Regions from separate parts of the Homo sapiens genome. Here region 1 is linked to region 2. The links are contacts of gene promoters, found by promoter capture Hi-C in blood cells and fetal thymus (Javierre and others, 2016). All regions are on one chromosome and are shown on one strand. The core of a region is centred on a gene start or on the middle of the fragment in contact, and the rest is flanking DNA. Distances in the headings are between cores, read along the strand shown.

Region 1 (5,090 bases), core at 2,536-5,035, 1.3 Mb before region 2:
GTTAGGAATAGATATATATCTACTATGACTGCTTTTTTAAAAGAAACACTGACTACTGGTGTTAGCCAATGCGCTAAGGTAAGAAAAATAAATGAAAGATGTTAAAGTTGAAAAAGAAAATTATTATATACAATCTCCCCCCAAAAAATCTGTATACAATTAGACACAGTAAACAAATTTAGAAAGGCTGTGGGACACAAGGTATATAAAAATCAACTGTACATACTAGCAAAAAACTACTGAAAAATTAAAGATCAAAAACATCATTTACTCAGAAATAAAAATATTTGCAAGAGCTCAACACTGAAAACTACAAAATACGAGAGAGACAAACTAAAGCTAATCTAAATAAATAGAGGGCTATCCCATGTTCTTAACTTTGGAAAGCTAAATGTTGTTAAGATGTCAATTCTCCCCATAAATGATCTCTATCAAAATTCCAGCAGGTTTGTAGGTTAAAACTGAAAAGTTGATTCTAGAGGGTTATCCGAAAATATAATAGCCAAGGCACTCCTGAAGAAGCATGAGAATGAAGGTCTTCTATTACCAGATATGAAGACATAATTTAATTTAGCTTTAATTCTACAGTAATTAAAGCAGTATAGCATTGGCAAATATACAAAAGTAGACTAATGGAATACATTGAAGAGTTGAGATACAGAGGCACAAATATAGGGCCACTTGATTTACAATAAAGGCAGCACAGCAATATTGTGGGGCAAGGATGGTCATTTCAATAAATGGTCAACTAGATATTAATGTAGAAAATTGTGAACTTGACCTCCACTCCATACACAAATATTAATTCAAAATGCATCAGTAACATAATGTGAAAGCTAAAACAATCAAGCTTCTACAAGAATACATCCAAGAATCTTCATGTCTTCAGCACAAATATTTCTGAAACAAAACATTAATAGTATTAGCCAGCAAAAGAAATATTGACAAAGTAGATCTGTTAAATTTCATAACTTGTTTCACCAAAAGATACCATTAAGAGAGTAAAAAGGCAAGCACATAATAGAAGATATTTAAAATACATATTTCTAACAATGAGCTTATATCCAGAATATCAACCAAATCAATGACAAACATACATAACTTGATTTTTAGAAAAGTGAGCAACCTACACAAGCTCAAATGATTTTTGACAAAGATGCAAAAGCAATTCAGTGGAAGAAGGATATCCTATGACCATGCAATTTCACTTCAAGATATCTACCCCAGAAAAGCTGGTGTGAGTGTGAACAAGGAGACATGTAAAGAACATTTATAGCAGCACTACTTGTAATAATGAAAGAAGCAATGACTATTCATTAGTCAGTAGGGAGATAAATAAATCCTATTTAATTCCTATCATCAAATACTACAAGGAGTTAAAATACACTAACTAGATCCATGTTTATCAATGTAAAACACAATGCTGCATTTAAAACAATTTACAAGTGCAGACAAATGTTACATTTTATTACAAGTTATACACTGACACACCCCAAATAATTTCAATACACTAAAAGATTCAAACATACACACAATATATAATACAAAACATGAACACCACCTTCAAGAGTGGTGATCTCTAGGTAAGAGTGGGATATCCAGGAGGGGGATAAGGGAATTTAGGTTATCTTTGTAATGCTTTATTTCTGAAACAAACACACACATTGCAAAATGTTAACACCTGTTTAACTGGTAATGTGAATGTAGGTGTCAGTTATATAATTTCTTGTTTTCTTCTGTATGTTTTAAATGTTTCACAAAAGAGTAAAAACAACCAAAAACAAAACTGCAAAAACCTAGGACTTCCACAGATTTTTCCATTCACAATTATAAGGTATTTGTTGTTACTGATGATAGCCCTTGTATTATACATTGCTCTAAAAAACTCAGAGAGAAACCTGAGCATTATTTATTGTAAGTTATAGAAATGTGCAGAGAAGTTACCTCTTCATCAGGTAAGTTTTTACCAACTATGGCTTTGAAAAATTTGGCAATATCTTCTAAAACGTGCATCCATTCTTCTGATTCCCAAACAGTGTGATAATCTTGGTACACAGGATAAGCTCGACCACAAATGCCATCAATTATTTTGTGAAGAAGCTAGCAAGAAAAAAGGAAATAAATGTACTTATAAGTAAAATGATGAAACAAATTTATCTTCCTCTTAACAAACAAATGTTGGGAGATGTTCATGTTATCTGCAAGACCAGCTTAAGTTAAAATGTATAAACCACTTTTAAGATTATTCTAATTAAAAATTAGAACTCATAAAAATCCTAGACTTTCTATTATTATGTTGACCTTCAGAAGCTAAAATAATTTTGTTATAAAAATTACATAATGAAAAAACTAAAAGGAAGATACATATAAAAGATTCCATATTTATAGCAACGACCAAACAAAAGGATAGGACTTATATCAAAGTCTCTTACTGTAGGCCTATAAGCTTCATTTTGCTTTGCCTCCATTTTCACAACATACTTTTTTTTCTTTTGAGGGTCTCACTATGTTGCCCAGGCTGGCCTTGAACTCCTGAACTCAAGCAATTTTCCCATCTCAGCCTCCCAAGTAGTTAGGACTGCAGACGAGCACCACCGCACCCAGCTCAGCAGTTACTTTTGCTGTATTCCCAGAAAGTCTCCAGTACTTTTTTCCTTTTTTTACTTTCCTTTCTATCCTATTAGTATCTTAATATCAGCAACAGAAAGCCTAACACATGTATAACTGAGCATAGTGATTAAGACTACGGATTTTGGAATAAAACTATCCAGTTCCAATCCCAGTTTCAGTATTTTCAAGTTTTATTTAAATGTTCTGAGTCTGCTTCCTCAAGTGTTAAATGAGGATATCATCTATTCTCTTAATCTTGCTGTAAGGATGGAATAAGAATACGTGCAAATCACTTGGCATCTTCCTGGCATGTACAAAGACATGTAGACATTGCTAGCCCTCGTTACCATTCTAATTATTATCACTAGTCCTCCTCCTCCAATTCATGCCTTCAGCATCTATTAACTGAGATAACACAATGCCAGTACTATTCTAAGCACTTAACATTTAATAAGGTTATCTTTCTTGAAGTTATTTGTATCTTACAAGAGGAGTATTTGAACCAAATAACTTGGAAATAATCATATTCCACCCCATTTTAACTAATAACTCCTTCCCTCTAACACCACACATGCCAGAACACAAGCAACTGCTTCCAAATGGTGGCTAATATACTATACAAACTGAATTTTTATTTACCATAAATCAACATACTCAATTTTGAATCCATTCAAAATTCTCTACACCTTATCCTATACTGTCCCCATGCTAAAAAAAAAACCCAGAACTCAAACTGAAAAATAAAAGCATTATCTTTTTTGGAATATGTTTGTTATTCATTCACAAATATGTAATGAACACTTCATCCCAGTTATTAAATAAAGTCATGGAAATGACCTTATTTAATGACAAAGGTCATGGAAATGACTTTATTTAATGGCAAAGAAACTATAATAGCTACCGTTATGGATCCCTAACTAGGTACCACACTCTGGACTGATCCTCACTACAACTCTGAAGTAACCATTGTTATTATTTCTATTTTACAAATGAGGAAACTGAGAATAAATAAGGCCCTACCATAACAGAGCTTTAGTCCATTCGAAAAAGGCAAACATACAAATACATGTAATTTAGAATGATGGGGCCATAATAAAAATATATACAAGGTACGAAGGAGCACAGAGAGGAAGCAAGGAAAAGTCCATCTTAAAAGGATGAGTAGTTGGCCAAGCAAAACAGGAGAGAAGAAGTGCATTTCTAGACACAAGCAAGTTATTTTGGGGGGTGCCTAGGGGGTGACAGGAGACAAGGCTGGAGAGGTGGGTGGAGCCAAATCAAAAAGGGCCTTGTGTACAAAGTAAAAGAGCCTAGACTTCAATCTGTGCTCAACCGGGAAGCAACCTATTCACACATTTGCATTATTTTTCCATATATTTGCTAACAGGTTGGAAGATGTAAGAGAGAGGGTGAGCCCAGATGCCTCAATTTTCAGTTAAGGAGTTAAAGATTAAGGGGCTTAAATTGTTGAGGACACTCAAAATGGAGGCAGTAAAGAGGTAGAAGAGATGTGAAAAGGGGGGGCCATGGATGAAACCTAGAACGTCAGGTTGAGAGGGGCTGGGTGAAAGTGGTGGTGCCACAAACCGAAAATGAGGCTACGGGAGGAGTAGGTCCAGGGGGAAAGAAGAGCTGAGGCAAGGGCATACTGAATTTGAGGTACCTGTGGCAGAAGCCTGACACTCAGGGAAGAGATTTTGGTTTGGGGTTTTTGGGGTTTTGTTTTGTTTTTTACCTGGCATTCTTGAACCATAGAGGAAGAAATTTTTGGCTGGACCTAAAGATTTAGAAGTCATCGACATATATGGTAATAAAGGTTATGGGCCTTATCTAAATGGGTAGAGTGAAGACAAGGAGAGCCAAAAGCCAATAAAACACTCAGAATCAACAGATCTGAGCATAAGTTCCAGCTCTGCCACTAACTGGATGGGCAATCCTGGGCAAGTTAGCCAAAATTTCTGCTGACATTTCAGGTTCCTCACTTGCAAAAACAAAGAAAAGAATTAGGTGTTTTTTTTTCTTGACCCTGGCAGGAGGTAAGTTCATTCCTTTCTGTCTCCTCCACACTTTCTCCAGTATAAATGGAATAGAGGAAACAGGAAGCCAAAATTGAGACTTATAAAAAAGATGCTCCACCAGGGCACAGGCTGTGTCTCACTCACCATTTACCTCATCCCATCGGGGCGCTCAATCTATGGTAGACTTCAATGAAAAACTGGCTGAACAAATGAATGTGGTTGCTTTTTCCAGATTCTTACAAGCCAGGTTCTTTTACAGACTGGAAGTCAATGGGTACATCACCTCTTGGGACGATCCTAACTAAAGTAACTCGCCCAGTTATTTCTCTTCCTACCAACCACCCTCAAGGGGGGAGGCAGGGTCCGCTTCGGTCTTTGTCACATTGTATTCCAGCACCTAGCTCTGTACCTGCTGTCCGGTAGGTAGGGAGCCTTTGGGAGGTTATGTGTTGAATGAATTAA
Region 2 (4,972 bases), core at 724-3,223:
ACGCTTTAAAAAGTTGGACTGCTTTAATAAAAAAAAAAAAAACTGGGTCACATGTTCCAACAGAATTCCCTCTTTTAGAGAACTAATTTTACAAAATAATTCAGAGTGGAAGACAAGACACGATGGAATGCTATTTTTGATAATGAGTAGCAGAAAAAAGACCAGAGAATAACACACCCACTGCTACTTTGTTTATACGGTTGTAACTTGCACATGCAAGTACTCTACATAAAGTATTGCACAAGAAGAAACTGTCAAAAATGAATGCTTATGAAAACATTCTTCACTAAGGCCTCTAACAAGGAATGTGCTATCTCTGATTTCCTCGGCAAGTATTGACAGATTAAGCAGAGTGATAATGCTCAAGATGAAAAGACGTCTTATACTAGTTTTTATCAATAGTAAAAGCTGTTGGTACTAATTATAATGGCTGTAAATTCAGTAGCAGAATCAACTTTACAGACGATATCTCCTAGGCAGCACAGCATTTTATAAAACCAACTTTACTTCCATCAAAACCCTTTTTCCCCCCCAATCCGACAGACCCTGGCAACCTGTCTTGCTGTGTCTTTTTTCCCCTACCCTTCCAAAAGAACCCCAGCCAGTGAATCGAAGTAATATTTTCCGCAGTTCAAAGGTAAGGGCAAACTCAGCTCTACTAAGAACTCTTGCTCCTCACCAGCACACACCCTAACCCCCACCCCCTTTTTTTTCTTTTCAAATCTTGGCCTAGGAAAGATTAATGCTCCCATATCATTGCAAATCCACAAAAATGCGATTTTAGGTGGCGAGGAACTAAACTAGGATGGCAGGAAAGACCGGCAGCAATAAATCATTTCGCCCTAGAAACCAGCCTCTCCAGAACGCAGGAAACCAGGCTGTGCCCAAAGAACCTGCCGCCCGGAAGCAACAACTTCCATCAAACGGCAAATAAAAGTTGCAAAGAAGAGCTCAGCGCCCAGGCACCCTGCCCGGTGCCGAGGCTGAGAGCAGCAGGCAATCTACAGGCCGAGTCAGCTCGCGGGCGGTGGCCGCGGTGTCCGCAGGGCTGGCTCCGGCTCCGGAAGACTCCGGGTCCCGGGGTACGCCAACGGCCCGGGGCTGCGCGGGCACAGCGCCCGCACCCCTCCCCAGGACCGCGAGCAGTGGGCGGAGAGACCAGAGCAAGGGAAAAGGCGGACAATGCCCGGCTGGGCTGGCGCGCTCCGCCGGTCCCCGCCAGCCCTGCCCGCCGGGGCCCGCCAGCCGCCGCGCTAAGTTTGCTCCTCAGCCCTCCCTTCCCAGCCGAGGCGGCGGAGCCGTGGTCGCCGGTCTTCCTCCACCTCTGCCACCGCCTTCCTTCCCGCGGGGCGGCTCCCGCGAGTCGGTGGCGAGGCGGCGCGCGACCAGAGCAGGACGCGCGAGAAGGCGGCGCGCGAGGGGTACCCGGGCGCGCGCGAGAAGAGCCAGGCACTGGAGGGGAAGGGGACGTGCGGGAGAGACGGGCGCGCGGCGCTGCCGGCGGAACCGCCGGAGCTCGGGCGGGCTTTCGGTTGAGGCTGGGGTTGCGCCGCGGTTTGGTGTCCGTTACGAGCGCCGGCCCGGGCCGCGCCGCGCCGCTTGCCAGCCATCCTGGACCGCCTTCCCTCGGCGCCCACCAGGAAGGACAGCTGGCGAGGGCCGACGACCTCGTCTCCCGCCCAGGCTGGGCTGCCGGCGGCGGGCATCCCGGCGCCTGCCCCGGGGCTGGAAGAGAAAGTAAAATGAAGCGCCTTTCCCCAGTCAACACCTACCCGTTCCCAGTCCTAGTACAGCTGCCTCGCTCCTCCAGCGCCGCCGGTCCCCGCCCTCGGGCCCCTGGCTCCGTTCTCTTGACAATGGCGCGTCCCCTTTAAGGAATAATCCGATCGGAACCGATCTGTGGTTAAACCTCCCTCCGACTCTGATTTTAACCGGATTTCTCTCTCGCTCTCTCCCAGAGCCCGACGGGCGCCCGGCTGTGCTGCGAGGTCTTCCCACCCCTTCCCTACCCCGCCCGCCCCCTGGCCTTCCTGATTGGCGAGAAACACTACAACAGGAACAGCAGTCCTCGCCCTCCACTGGCCTGGCCAGCCGCCGCTCAAAGTTGCTCCTACCTTCTCCCCGCCCCTTTTCCCGGGTTGGTCTTCCCTCTAATCATTCTCTGCCCTCGCCTCTAACGTTGCTTTGGAGCCCTGGCAGTCAAGGCTCACCCTCCCGCCTCCGGAAAGCGAACTTTATTTTTATTGGTGAAAGGACATCTTCCTGTACACTTGATTGGGCAAGGAAAGAGCTAGTCTGCACGCTCCCTACCATTATTACTCTCTCTTTACGGGCTTGAGAAACACAGCCGCAAAGTCCTCTCCGCTTTGCCTTCTAGGAGCGACTTTACCTTTAAATGTTGTTAGGGGTCGAGGACAAACTCATATCCTATATTGAGGAAAGCTGGAAAGGGACAAGAGAAAAATTCAAAATTTTCTCCCGATCAGTAATGTATCCAGAGCTGGCGCCCGGATCCTGCGGAACCTTATCCAATGATCCAGAGAATGGAATGGTTAGAATTGAGTTAGAATACCTGAAAGTCCAGTGCTAATTCCTCCTGAGATTTACTCAACAAGTTTCATCCACTGTCCGCCCTACTCATACCATTGATTGCACTGGCATTTTGCCACCCGGAAGAGCTTTAATCAAGTTATCTGCAAACCTGGAGGTTTCCTTGCTTGTCTCGCAATTGTTCATTTAGAAAATCATTTCCATTACAAGTTCCGTTTAAGTCACGTCCTCTGTGACGTTCCCGCGTTTCCACGAGACCTGTTACTTTTTTGAAAAAATTAAGTAGATGGTACCCTTATGCCATCCTCAAAGTGTAGGACTTCGTTCCCCCTTGCTAGAACTGTAGGAAAAACACCCCAGGTCACTTGAACAACTGAGATGCCTCTCAGGAGAAAACGAGTCTGTCTAAGGGAAAGAGGGAATCTGATACCAGAAGCTTGACCATGGAGCAGAACCTCACGCATTGAAAAGAGAAGAAATTATGGGGAAGCCTAGTGCGGGGTCTGCTTTAGAGTTTCCCCAGTTTCCCACTGGAGCTGTAAGAACTAAAAGGTTTATTTCCACTAAAATTGAGTACAGGTACAGCTTCGGTACCCATCTAAGAATGTTAGGGGAAAATGGTTATGTGTTCTCTCCCTCTTTGCCGATGAACCTTGAAGACTGTGTACCCCGGGGGCTTTAGTACATTTGCAGTGATACCCCAGTATAATCTAATGGTGCCAAGGAAGTGTCAGTGCTCAGCAGTACCCTAGAAAAGGGGCTTGATGATGACAGAGAAGGGTAAGTAAACATCAGTAGTTGGTAGTTCATAGGACTTTTCCCCAAATACAGGTGAAAAATTTCATGAGGATTCCCGAAAATATGAAAGAGCAGGAAACAAAAGGGAACGTTGCAGGAAGGTGGTTTAGGTATCACTAGTGGGGGCAAGAGACGATGAACTATCTGGGTTGCATTTATATGGCCTTCACAGATACACACATCCTCCCTATTAAGTCCCTATAACTAAATCCCTATGCTTAGCCTATTCTGATTTTACTGTATAATAAAACTGCAGCCAAGCTAAACTAATACTTCTGGTTTACTCACTTACCACTCTCAAACTCTGAGACTGCTTCTGGGTTCTAATATTCTACATTAGAATATAAGAAGAAGAAGATACTATGTACTGATATCTAGTATGATCTTCTGGAGATAAAGATATCCAGTGTTTCAGGCATGTACACACCTGCAGCTTTTGTTCAAGGTCTAAGTGATGTTTTCAGGTTCTTTCTAAAACACCTGCCCTATGATATCCAGCTTGTTACTGCCCTCTTTTGCTGCACTAGCAGACTGGGCATATAAACTAGAGAAGGCAGTCTACAGTAACCTCTAGATTCTCTTACTTGCATTGAACCAACTATGCTGAGATTATCACCTTTCAAGTATAATTTGTGTTATTCTTTTCTCTAAATATTTCATATTTGCCCACAATAGGATCATTTATCACTTTTTAGCCCACACATGCAACTTCCTGGTACTAATACTCCTACTGGCATTTCACAGCAAAGAAGAATTTTAAAAATCTACAAACCTGGAGCTTACAACGTAGAGGTTATTCTTAAGAATGTTCAGTGTTGATGAACACAGCCCCAGTTCTAACCCTGGAGAATTTTACAAGTTGTACTTTCTCATTCAGAGAGACTTTATCTCTCTACCTTAGTTTCTCATTCTAAGCCCAATCCCCACTCTTTAAAAAAAGAATATTTCTCGGCTGGGTGCAGTGGCTCACGCCTGTAATCCCAGCACTTTGGGAGGCCAAGGCAGGTGGATGACTTGAGGCCAGGAGTTCAAGACCAGCCTGGGCAACATGGCGAAACCCCATCTCTGCAAAAAATACAAAAATTAGCTGGTGGGAATGGTCACAGGCCTGTGATCCCAGCTACTGGGGAGGCTGAGGCAGGAGAATCACTTGAACCCGAAAGGCGAAGGTTGCAGTGAGCCAAGATTGCACCACTGTACTCCAGCCTGGGCGACAGAGTCTCACTCTGTCACACACACACACACACACACACACACACACACACACACCCTTCTCCAATGTGCTAATGTAAATAAAGCTTTTTAAATTATTGTATATAGATGTTTGTTAAAGTCTTTTAAATGGTGAAATACCTCCAGGCACCATGGCTCACACCGTGCCAGTAATCTCAGCACTTTGTGAGGCCGAGGCAGGCAGATCACCTCAGGTCAGGAGTTCAAGACCAGCCTGGCCAACATGGTGAAACCTCGTCTTTACTAAAAATACAAAAATTAGCCGGGCGTGGTGGCGCATGCCTGTAATTCCAGCTACTCGGGAGGCTGAGGCAGGAGAATGGCTTGAACTCGGGAGGCGGAGGTTGCAGTGAGCTGAGATCGCACCACTGCACTCCAGCCTGGATGACAT

The links. Contacts are between HindIII fragments. The CHiCAGO score rates a contact against its expected background, and 5 or more counts as called.
Region 1: a contact is called between a fragment that was not itself captured here and the fragment with the promoter of FRYL in region 2, in 2 of 17 cell types (naive CD8 T cells and naive CD4 T cells). The highest score is 7.6, in naive CD8 T cells.

What each region holds. Positions count from the first base shown.
Region 1 is chr4:47,458,200-47,463,289 of GRCh38, forward strand. COMMD8 (COMM domain containing 8) reads right to left here. Exons shown (of 5, transcript NM_017845.5): 2 at 1,945-2,100. Among named protein-coding and RNA genes, the nearest start is that of COMMD8, 3.0 kb to the right of the region's middle. The HindIII fragment of the contact is 2,682 bases long and covers 2,445-5,090 here.
Region 2 is chr4:48,778,306-48,783,277 of GRCh38, forward strand. FRYL (FRY like transcription coactivator) reads right to left here and starts at 1,974. Exons shown (of 64, transcript NM_015030.2): 1 at 1,773-1,974. RefSeq lists silencers at 940-1,819, 1,910-2,019. The HindIII fragment of the contact is 8,638 bases long and covers 1-2,984 here.